Linked DNA regions of Homo sapiens: region 2 is linked to region 1. The links are contacts of gene promoters, found by promoter capture Hi-C in human tissues and cell types (Jung and others, 2019). All regions are on one chromosome and are shown on one strand. The core of a region is centred on a gene start or on the middle of the fragment in contact, and the rest is flanking DNA. Distances in the headings are between cores, read along the strand shown. Region 1 holds the start of ZNF706 (zinc finger protein 706). Region 2 has its middle 81 kb from the start of YWHAZ.

Region 1 (5,208 bases), core at 2,310-4,809:
ATAGTATTTATACAACGGAATACTACCCAGCATTTAAAAAATTGTGGCCAGGCGCGGTGGCTCACGCCTGTAATCCCAGCACTTTGGAAAGCCAAGGCGGGTGGATCATGAGGTCAGGAGTTCAAGACCAGCCTGGCCAAGATGGTGAAACCCTGTCTCTACTAAAAATACAAAAAAAAAAAAAAAAAAAAAAAATTAGGCAGGCATGGTGGTAGGCACCTGTAATTCCAGCTACTTGGGAGGCTGAGGTGGAGAATTGCTTGAATCCGGGAGGCAGAGGTTGCAGTGACGCGTGATGGCACCACTGCACTGCAGCCTGGGCGACAGTGAGACTCTGGTCTCAAAAATAAATAAACAAACACACAAACAAAAAATTGTTACAAGTAACAACTTGGTTGTATCTCAATGTTAAAGGAAAGAAGCCAGTTGTGGGGAATATACATTATTTAAAGTTCAAAACAGGCAAAGCTAATCTATAGTGAAAGGGGTCACCTTGGGGGTTATGGGTAATGACTGGGAAGACAGGACATGAAGGGGACTTATGGGGTCCTGAAAATGTTCTTGAATCAAGTGTGTTTACTTATAAAAATTCATTGAATTGTACACTCAAGATTTATGCACTTTACTGTATGTAATCTTCACAAGTTTACTAAAAAAGTTTAGCCCCCGCTATCATTTACTTGATCACTCTGCAAAAGTAATTTCCCTTCCCAGTATTCATTGTGACTTGCGATTGTGATTTTTATAACTTTAAGAGAAATAAAAGCTGTCTGTTACTCCTTCTAAAGGAGACCTCAGAAATAGGTGGAAACTGTTTTCTTACTTAGTTTTCATAAAACTACTGTTATTAATTTTTTTAAAAAGTTGGTCTTGCTGGATTGCTGAACAAATTATAAAATGAGATTATCAGCAAGCCACTAATTCCAGAAGTTTCTTTGCTCTCTAGACGTTAGTTCCCATTTGAGGGAATGAACTTGGTTAAGAGGGTTCTTTTACAAAGCTGAAAGATACCACTTTTTGTTACCGATGATCTGACGTGAACCCAAATGGATTAAAACAAAAAAAAAAATCAAGTCACTGAAAAAAGTTACTTTTACTTTTCCATTTAAATTAAAGGCTTTTATTCGACCACACAAGTTAAACCTGCTCATAAAGTCTATCATGAGTCTCAATTGCTTTTTAAATATATCAAAATTGGATCCTAAGTAGAATTCATATATATATAGTTTTGACTAGTACTGTAACTGAATGTAAATCATTGCAGGACAGGAACATACAATGGATTTGTATCAACTTCACCAGGGAAGGGTGCTAGCTTCTTCTGACTAGGACCATAATTAGTTAATGGATATGAGGTCAAAGCATTTCATAAAAATTACTGAGCTCCTCCTGTTCCCCAAAAAAGGAAACTAAAAAAATACACTGATTGGAGAAGTTCCCACTAGCATTAAAAAAATGAACTGAAAGTCAGATAAAATATAAAAGAGGGTCAATGCTTTTCAGGATAGTCAGCTGACTATTTCAACTGAGGAAATATGGGGTTTTTATATTAGGGTAGCACACGAGCCTAATACATTTTCGTAATTGAAAATGTTTAGCGTGCTAGCCTAATATGAGAACCCCATTCCCACCAAACAATGGTAAATATTACCAGCTGTTATCAGTCCTTGAAGACTAAGCTTCCATTTTTGCTTTAAAAAAAATTATTAATTCTAAGCCAAATGGCACATTTTTTTTAAAAGTGTATTTAAGTCCGATGTTACCGCAAGCTTACAAACCTATTCCCATGGAAACAGGTTTGGATACTTATGTATTATTTGGACGACAGTAGTCACGTGATCAGCCTTTATGTATACCAATGTTTTGCAAGGTTTTTTGTCTCAATGTCTTACTATCAGGACCTTGTAACAAAATAGCCAGTCTTCTCACACATCTTAACTCTTCGACACAATGTATTTTATGTATCTTAATACACTGATTTTGTGGGAAATCTTGTTTTATGTTAAAAAAAATCTTCAAAAATGGTAAGCCACTAATTTCAGAAGTTCCTTTGCTTTCTAGAAGTTACTAGCTATTTTGATATTTCCATGTTGTGACTCGTACAAAGCAATGTCATTAGACACACAAAATTATTTTTAACTTTTGCACTTAGGACTTTCCCTAAAATATAACATTACACAATAGATTCAACCCATTTTCCATTGTCACCAAACAGCAACCAAAAAGACCGAAGAGACTTAATAAAGACAGTAGTCACTTGTTCTTATTCTGAAGACAGAAAACTTAACACCAGGTAAAGGAAATGGAATAAAATAAGCTAAATGCATGAGGTAGGCCCCTAACTTCTGACAACACGCCCCATCGATTTCCTTTCTGAAAGCAGAAATTCAAACGAACCAACCACCTGCTTTTGGACAGCTCAACTTAGGACTTGCTCTCAAGCCAACACAATTTTCTACAAAATCGTAGGCAGCTACAACCGCTCCTTGATTAAATGCGACAAACTGGAGGGAAAAAGTCACTTACAAATACCTACATGCTGGTTTTTAATGCAACTCTCAGTGTGGTTTTCCGAGGGGGCTGCAAAGAGGGAAGTAGTGGAAGAAACGAGTTCTAAAATGAGGCGCTCTCGTAGGAGGCAACAAGTAAGCTCTGCCCCAAAGCTCCTTTTAAAACCAACATAAATGAGTAACAGAAGAAAAGGATTTTGGGTCCAGGAAGTAGGCTCATTCTCCATAACCATCGGAAAGGAAGAGGCCCAGGCAGCGCTCCACATCCTGACCCTAGCTTTTAACACCATCGTTTTGGGGAGAGGAGAGGAGGAACGCACCCACAGTGAGGTCTCCACCCAACACTTCTCCGACCCCAGCTTCAGCCTGGCGCACCTTCCTTCCCAAACCCGCCTCTCCCGCCTCGGAGACCCCCTCCTCCTCCCTGCCACCAAAGGCCACGCAGCCCCCATCTAGCCAGTCCTCACGGACCCTGGACCAAGACGCGCCTCCTGGAGGCCGAGACTGCCCGAAACCCGGCCCCTGCGTCCACCGGGAGCGCCACACTCTGGCAGCTGACCGGCGGCTGTCGCCGGGGGTAAGGTTACCGCTCCGCTTCCGCGGCTGGCCTGCGACCCGGCCACCTGCAGGGCCTGGCAGGCGCCCGAACTCATCCCCTTCCCGCGGCCCGCCCCGGGCCGGGCCCTGCCGCCCCCCGCGACCCCTCGCGACCCGCGGCGAGTCCCACGGTCCCCACCGCCCCCCGCTGGCCGGCCCCCGCCCCGTTTCCCGGGCGTCCCGCGGCGTCAGCACCGCCCCCGCTGCCGCTCACCCGGGCCGGGACAGTCTTGCGTCGGAGAGACAGTGCAGCGCGAGAGGGCCGGGAGAGGACGCCGGAGGGAAAGGAAGGGGGAGCGCGCCCAGCACCGCTTGGGCCTCCTCCACCCGCTCAGGAGGGGAAACACGAGAGCCGGGAGCACAACAGCCTCGCACGCCCGCCGCCGCCGCGCGCCCGCCGCCGCCTCAGCCTTAGGGGAGACCACTACGCCTCGTGCCCGCGCACGCCGCGCCGCTCTCCTCGGCGCCCCCGCCCCGCCTGCTCCTCGCAGCCCCGCCCATGTGCCTTTCTGCGGCTGCCTCCTTCTGGCCCCCACCCCGCTCGCACGCCTGCGCCCTGGCTGGTCGCGCGGGCCAATGGCAGCGCGCCCCTATTACATAAGCGCGAGGGGGCGGGCCCTGGCTGACACAAACTTCAGGGGACGTCGCCTTCTGTCCCCAGGCGCCCCTCCTCTCCGGCGCGCTCGGTCCGGGCGGCTTCTTCACCCAGCCCTGGGAGCCACGTGATCCCGGTCCTGGTTGGTGACCGGGCCGCGGCGTGTTTCACAAGTCGCTCGCTCGCTCATCCACTCGGGCGGCGGCCGGGCCTCAGGCGCTGCGACCCTTTTCCCGCTCCTCCCAGGCTGACGCGCCCGTCTCGGCGCCGCCCTCCTCGGCACCGACTGAGGCGCTGGCCCGGGAGCGGATCGCGGGGCCGCGGTGGCTGAGTCACATTCCCGGAGCCCCGCCACCCAGGACACCGCGGCCCCGGCCCCCAGCGAGCCCGGCGGACCCAGCGGCTCTGAACGCGGACGCACAGCCTTTGTTCTTTCACAGCCGCCCTTTACCTCACTCCCATGGAAACCCCAGGTGTTTTCCCAAGCTGGGGGCTTTTAGTGAGTTCAAGATTCAAGCCTAAGTCGTATTAAAAATTGCTGGCTAGGCCGGGCGCGGTGGCTCACGCCTGTAATCTCAGCGCTTTGGGAGCCCAAGGCAGGAGGATCACTTGAGCCCAGGAGTTCCAGACCAGCCTGAGTACATAGCGAGACCCACGTCTCCACAAAAATAAAATAAAATAAAATAAATAGTGGAGCATGGTGGCCCGCGCCTGTAGTCCCAGCTACTCGGGAGGCTGAGGTGGGAGAATCGCTTGAGGCCGGGAGGTGAAGGTTGCGGTAAGCCGAGATCGCGCCATTGCACTCCATCCTGGGCGACTGAGTGAGACCCTGCCTAAAAAAAAAAAAAAACAAAAAAAGAAAAAAAAATTGCTGGCCAGGCTTCCCGGAGGGGTTTAGTTTGACTGCTAACAATATACGGTACTGAGTTGCTAATCCTTCGGGGAATGGTTAAAGTTCTTTGCGCGCGCTCTCTCTCCATTTACAGGCAGTGGCAGCAAACTTTCAATATCTGACAAGAGCAATGGCGATTATAACCATGATTAAAATTGCTGAATATCTGGAAACAGTACTTTAGACATCAGCTTTATTGTGCATACTTACCCCCGACCCCCGCCACATTCGTTTCTAATTAGAACTACTAGTGACAAAGGAGAAAAAAAAAAAGTGTTTGCATTGGCTGTTCTCACCTTGCCTGTAGTGCCGTTTCCCAAGTTTGCGTGGCAGTGCCCAGGAAATGTTGGCTGAATATTAGTATATCCCAAATGACTTGGACTGGGCTATAGATACCACAGAATTGTTTAAACTAGCCAGGAAGGAGTTAGCTGCCTATTGCATTTGAGTGGAGAAAAATACGAAATGAAACATGGCATGCAGTGATCCGGGTGTTCAGTTCTCCCTCTTCATCCTCATTTCAGCTTCTCTCACCTTCACTTTTTATGCTCTGACTTCCTTCTTGCAGTTTTAAATTACTCTCTAGTCCTAGATTGTAAGATTATTTTCATCAG
Region 2 (5,208 bases), core at 898-3,397, 340 kb before region 1:
CCACCACAGCAGAGCAGCAGTGGGATAGGCACCCCGACCCCAGAAAGAGGATCTGGGCAGGGCTCTAGCACCATCTCTGTCTTATACAAAGCAGGTGTTCAATAAATATTTGGTAATTAATTGATTCCTTCTACCCTCTCATTCCCTGTCTATATAAGTTAATTCTACCATAAGAGTACTGTGTCAATGAGCACTCTAGCCCTCACAACGCATTTTATAGGCACACTCTGTGGAAGAAATACCAAGTTCACTTTGCGAACTGGAATAGGAGCAGCCTGGAGAATTCATGCCTCACTGTCTATGGGGGTGAGTATGGACATGCAGGTATAGAAAGAGAAAATGCACCATCTGGAACCATTGAGAAGCAGGAGGAAAAGTTACAGCCGCAAGCACCACAACCGTCTGTGAACAGATACAATTTTGTGTTTCATCTGGAGTGTGAGTCATTTCCCACTTTCTTCTCCTCATCCTCCCTAAAGTCCAAGTCAACCAAGGAGGAGCTCCAGATGGCTCACCCACAATTAGGTCTTCTTTGATTGTTCTAGGAGGATTAATTAGTCACCACCATGAGTATAAAGACCAAATCAAGAGGCAATATGGCAGAGGGAGAGAGAGGGAGGGAGAGACCTGCCTGCTGCTGAGGCGAGCACAGAAGGGCCTGTGGATTACACAGATGGTGTGTCATTCAAACTCTCTTTTGGAGAATGCCAACGTAGGGATGGGCCAGGTGTGTTAAACAGTCCTATTCAATGATTCATAGTCCTGGCTACACCCTAGAATCACCTGGGGAACTTTAAAAAATACTGATGCCCAGGCCCTGCCCTGAGATTCTGGTATAAGTGGTGCATTGGAGCCTGGGGATGAATATTTCCTTTTTAAAAGCTCCCTGGCTGGATCAATGTGCACTTAGTGAAGAACAATGTTGCAGTGCTTGCAATTTATTTGAACTGCGGTCAGTTTATTGCATTTCCCAAAGTATTTGTCATCTATCTGCCCAGTCCTGTGTTTGGCACTACAGAGAAAACAAAGCAATGGAAACCAGAAATAGCAAAGGATGTGGAGGAGTCCAAAGGTTTGGGTTCAAAGTCCAAGTCTGCCATTTTCCTGCTGTGTGACTTTGGGGAAGCCAAGTCCTTGAGGGGGTGGCATGATTGTGAGGTTGAAAGAGAACAGGACTAGGGCCAAGGGCTCTAATCCTTCCACCTTTGCGGTTAACTCGTGGTGTCACTTCAAAGCCAGTCACACCACCTCTCTAGACTTCTGTTTTTCTGTGGATAAAAGGAAAGAATGAGACTAGGTCAGTGGTTTCCAGATTTGGGTTTGAGAGACAGAACCTTCATGGTGCAGGTGTTTCTTGGTTGAAGGGTGGGAGGGCAATGAGACCCATCTTAGGGACTCCTGCTTCTCCTTCCAGGAAATCCCTGCTGTTACTCGAGGGGAACTATTTGAAACCCATTGGACTAGAAGATGTGCTCCCAGGCCCCTTGCTGTGAAGTCCTGTGGTCTTGTCTCTCACTTGCTCTGGACAAACACCCTGAGCAGTACTTTCTGCACTTAGGTACTTATGAATACTTTCACATGATGAGCGGGAATGGGTCCTGGAGCTTGTCCACTGGGCACATTTTCCTTCTAAGTGCATTGCTACTTCCTCCTCCCTGACTTCCTCTTGCATCCTATTATTGATTAGTTCGACTTGGCAAGTTTGTCGTAATTTCCAATTCTCTCTGCCAAGTTCCTCATTCCTTGAAGGATGAGCTGGCTTTGAAGACAATGATGCATATGTTCACTGTGGATTCTAGAAAAGGGGGGACTTCCCAGAATATGTGTTTCTGTGATTTCCATGACACTTCTCTACCAAGGGCCGTGGGCCGCCTCCCTCAGCTCTGATCTGGGAGAGCAATATCTATTCCTATAGTCAAGCTTGCTCCAGACTGCATTAAAGAAGGAGGAGACAGGGTGTTTCCTAATCGATGATGCCCCTATTAAAATTGTATATGTTGCAAGCTGTTACAGGGCCTGAATCAGAACCAGGAGACTATGGCCACAGGGGGCCATCAGAGTTGTTTTCAACCCCTCCGTGCCAGTTTAAGTCTTCTGCGAAGCAGATACCAAAATGGGATTAGATGTTCCAGAGACATATGGAGGGAAGTGCCCATCAAGGATGCAGGGGAGGAATTGGGAGGAGGCAGGGAGAGGCTTCTGGCCGCAGTGCAGATCTGACATCTGTGAATGGTGATTAGGAAGGGGAGTATAGGACAGGAAGAATCTCAGAATTCAGGGCCATTCTGAGGGAGCCTCCGCAGACAACTAGGAATCCCCAGGCAAAGGCTGCCCACCTCGAACAGAAACACCCAGCTCGCAGTCTCTGTCCTGTCAGTTGTGGCTGGGAGCAGCCCTGGGGGAGCATCATCTCGGTGTGAACGTGCATGGTGGGACAAAGGCACACAGCTGGAGGCTGGCAGAAGGTTGGAGGGGAGCACCTCCTTCCCCGCCACACCTCTGCTCTCAGTTCAGCTGGTGTAGATTTCACCAGGTGGCCCCAAAGAAATCACAGCACCCTTGTCTTGGCTGATACAGCCTCTGCTGGAAGGTGGCCCACTGGCTGGCTCTGTGTAACTGGAGATGGCAGTGTCCTAGGGGACAGTATTTGAAGACCTGGAAGCACTCAATCTCTTTGGAATATCCACCTTCACTAGACCTGCTATCGGACATGTAAGCCACTTCACAAGTTAAGGCCCTTTTGCAGACACAAGGATAGTAGCCTTCACATTAAAGAGCACGCTTCAGCTGAAGTCCATCAAAAATCAATTGGACCATGCTAGCAGCTCTGGAAGAAGCCTGGGAGGGTCTAAATTTCTCCCACTGACAGATGGGAAAATTGAGGCTCAGAGAGGCTGAAGTGACTGACCCTGAGTCACAGACTCAGTAGATGATGGAGGGAGAGAGAGAGATTAAGAGCCAAGGTCTGACCTCCCTCATTCACTCAACACGAGCATGTGGTACTTCAGTTTTCAAGCATTGAGGATGCAGCTGTGTCTGTTGACAGACAAAATCCCTGCCTTCAGGAAGCTTACACGGCTGTTGGGGGAGAGAAGTGATAAATGTATAAACATAATAATTTCAGATCGTGGCAAGTGCAATGAAGAAAACGAGATAGAGCAATAGGACAGGAGAGGGAGAGGAAGAGGAAGAGAAAAAAGCCCCCAAGAGTGGTCAGGGGAGGCTTCTCTGGGATGTGGATTTGATCTGAGTCATGAGTGAGGAGAACGTGCAAGCCCCTGAAAGATCTGGGAGCAAGGCCGGGCTTGGTGGCTCATGCCTCTAATGCCAGCACTTTGGGAGGCCGAAGCAGGAAGATCACTTGAGCTCAAGAGTTTGAGACCAGCCTGGGCAGCATGGTGAGACCCCATCTCTTCAAAAAAATACAAAAACTAGCCAGGTGTGGTGGCACATGCCTGTAGTCCCAGCTTCTCAGGAGGCTGAAGGGGGAGCCCAGGAGGTTGAGGCTGCAGTGAGCTGGTGAGCTGAGATCAACGCCACTGCACTCCAGCCTGGGCAACAGAGAGACCCTGTCTCAAAAAAAAAAAAAAAAAAAAAAAAAGAAAGAAAGAAAAAAAAGACCTGAGAGCAGAGCAGGGTGGATGGGAAGGACCAAGGCCCTGTGGCAGGAATGGGCTGAGCTTAGGGCTCAAGCCGGAGGGTGGACACCCCTGAGAACAGGGCCAGGAAACTGGTTGGAGAATTGCAGGGGTTTTGTAGGTCCTCTAGTGAGTTTGGATTTTTATTCTGATTTCTATGGAAGCCAATCCATGAGAAGGGCTGGAATGGCATTGAGAGGTTAATGAGATGGGGAATGAACTCCTGGAGGGACGAAGCCCACCAGCTGTCATGTCACAGTCTCCATGAGCTTCTGCACTGGGGGCAGGAACCCATCTTCTAGAGCTGCTTTCAGAGACAAAGATGGTCCTAAACCCACATGGTGAGGCAGGTGGGTGGCTTCGACCTGGGGACTCATTCCTGCAGAAAGGAGAGCAGGGAGGAGCACTGCCACTGCCTCCTTCCTCCCCTCCCCAACCCCCACCCCCAGCCCCCTTCTCCAGAGCGCTCACCCTCAGAATCTTGGTTCCTAACCTTGGCTCCATGGGGATCATTTGGGGAGCTTCATCTCTTTTTATTTATTTATGTATTTATTTTGGGACAGGGTCCCGCTCTGTCACCCAGGCTGGGGTGCAGTGGCAAGATCTCAGCTCACTACAACCTCCACCTCACGGGTTCAAGTGATTCTCCACAAAGGAAATTGCGGTTTTTGTAATTACTTTTAATTGCAAAAGTAGGTGATTCCGATGCATGCCAAAGTTTGAGGACCACTGTTCTAAATAAACTTTGAACAGACATTTAGTAATATTGGTTTGAAAGGTCAGCAATCATTAGCCTCCTTGGGATGCCCATGTGTCTTCCCACTTGAGGCATGTTATGTCCATCCATGAATAATGACTTCCTGGGCACTTACTTGAGTTCCTGGTGCTATTCTAACTGCTTCGCATGTATTATCTTTCATAACAATCCTATGAGGTAGGAACCATTATTGTTGCTACTATTATTCCCATCCCTAGCCAGGATTCAAGCCCAGGCAGTCTGGCACTAGAGCCTGGCACATAATCTTGCCCTTCTAGTTGGCACAAAATCTCAGTGACCGTTTAGCTCATTGGCTGGCACAGTGTCGAGTAAATGCTCATTAATTCCGAATATGAACAGATATGGGTTGGGAAGGAGAATTCTTAGGGCATGGAATTTGCAGGGAATAGGGAGTGTCAGGGGTGGGGTGGGAGGCCGCAGGGGAAAGGAAAGAAGAGAAGAGAGAGCCAGGAGGCACTGTGGGTTTAGCAGGTGCCTGCAAGAGGACCCTGCAAGAAGGAAAGAGGGGAAGTCACTCATTGCCAAGTCAGTCATGAGCCCTACCTGTCCTGGGGCCACGTCAATTTACCAGCCAGAAAGGAGGCCAACATCAAGCCAGGGCCTCTGCTGTGCTTTGGGAACATCCAGAATGAGGGAGTGCAGGTTCGATTCCTCAAGGCCCTCATCTTCCCTCTCCTGCAACAGTCCCATCTCGGCCACTTCCGAAGGCATCTCCAGCCCCGCGTATCCTGTCTATACAGGGAATGCATAACTGAGATGAGTAGCCAAGAATTTTGAGCCACAAACCTTCAT

What was found. Contacts are between HindIII fragments. The study calls those that stand out against the background at their distance.
Region 2: a fragment that was not itself captured here is called in contact with the fragment with the promoter of ZNF706 in region 1 in 2 of the 25 tissues and cell types used here (dorsolateral prefrontal cortex and hippocampus).

What each region holds. Positions count from the first base shown.
Region 1 is chr8:101,202,114-101,207,321 of GRCh38, forward strand. ZNF706 (zinc finger protein 706) reads right to left here and starts at 3,560. Exons shown (of 4, transcript NM_016096.5): 1 at 3,322-3,560. RefSeq lists silencers at 3,095-3,694, 3,905-4,124. The HindIII fragment of the contact is 7,281 bases long and covers 1-5,208 here.
Region 2 is chr8:100,868,082-100,873,289 of GRCh38, forward strand. No RefSeq gene overlaps it. Among named protein-coding and RNA genes, the nearest start is that of YWHAZ, 81 kb to the right of the region's middle. RefSeq lists an enhancer at 604-1,803. The HindIII fragment of the contact is 4,224 bases long and covers 36-4,259 here.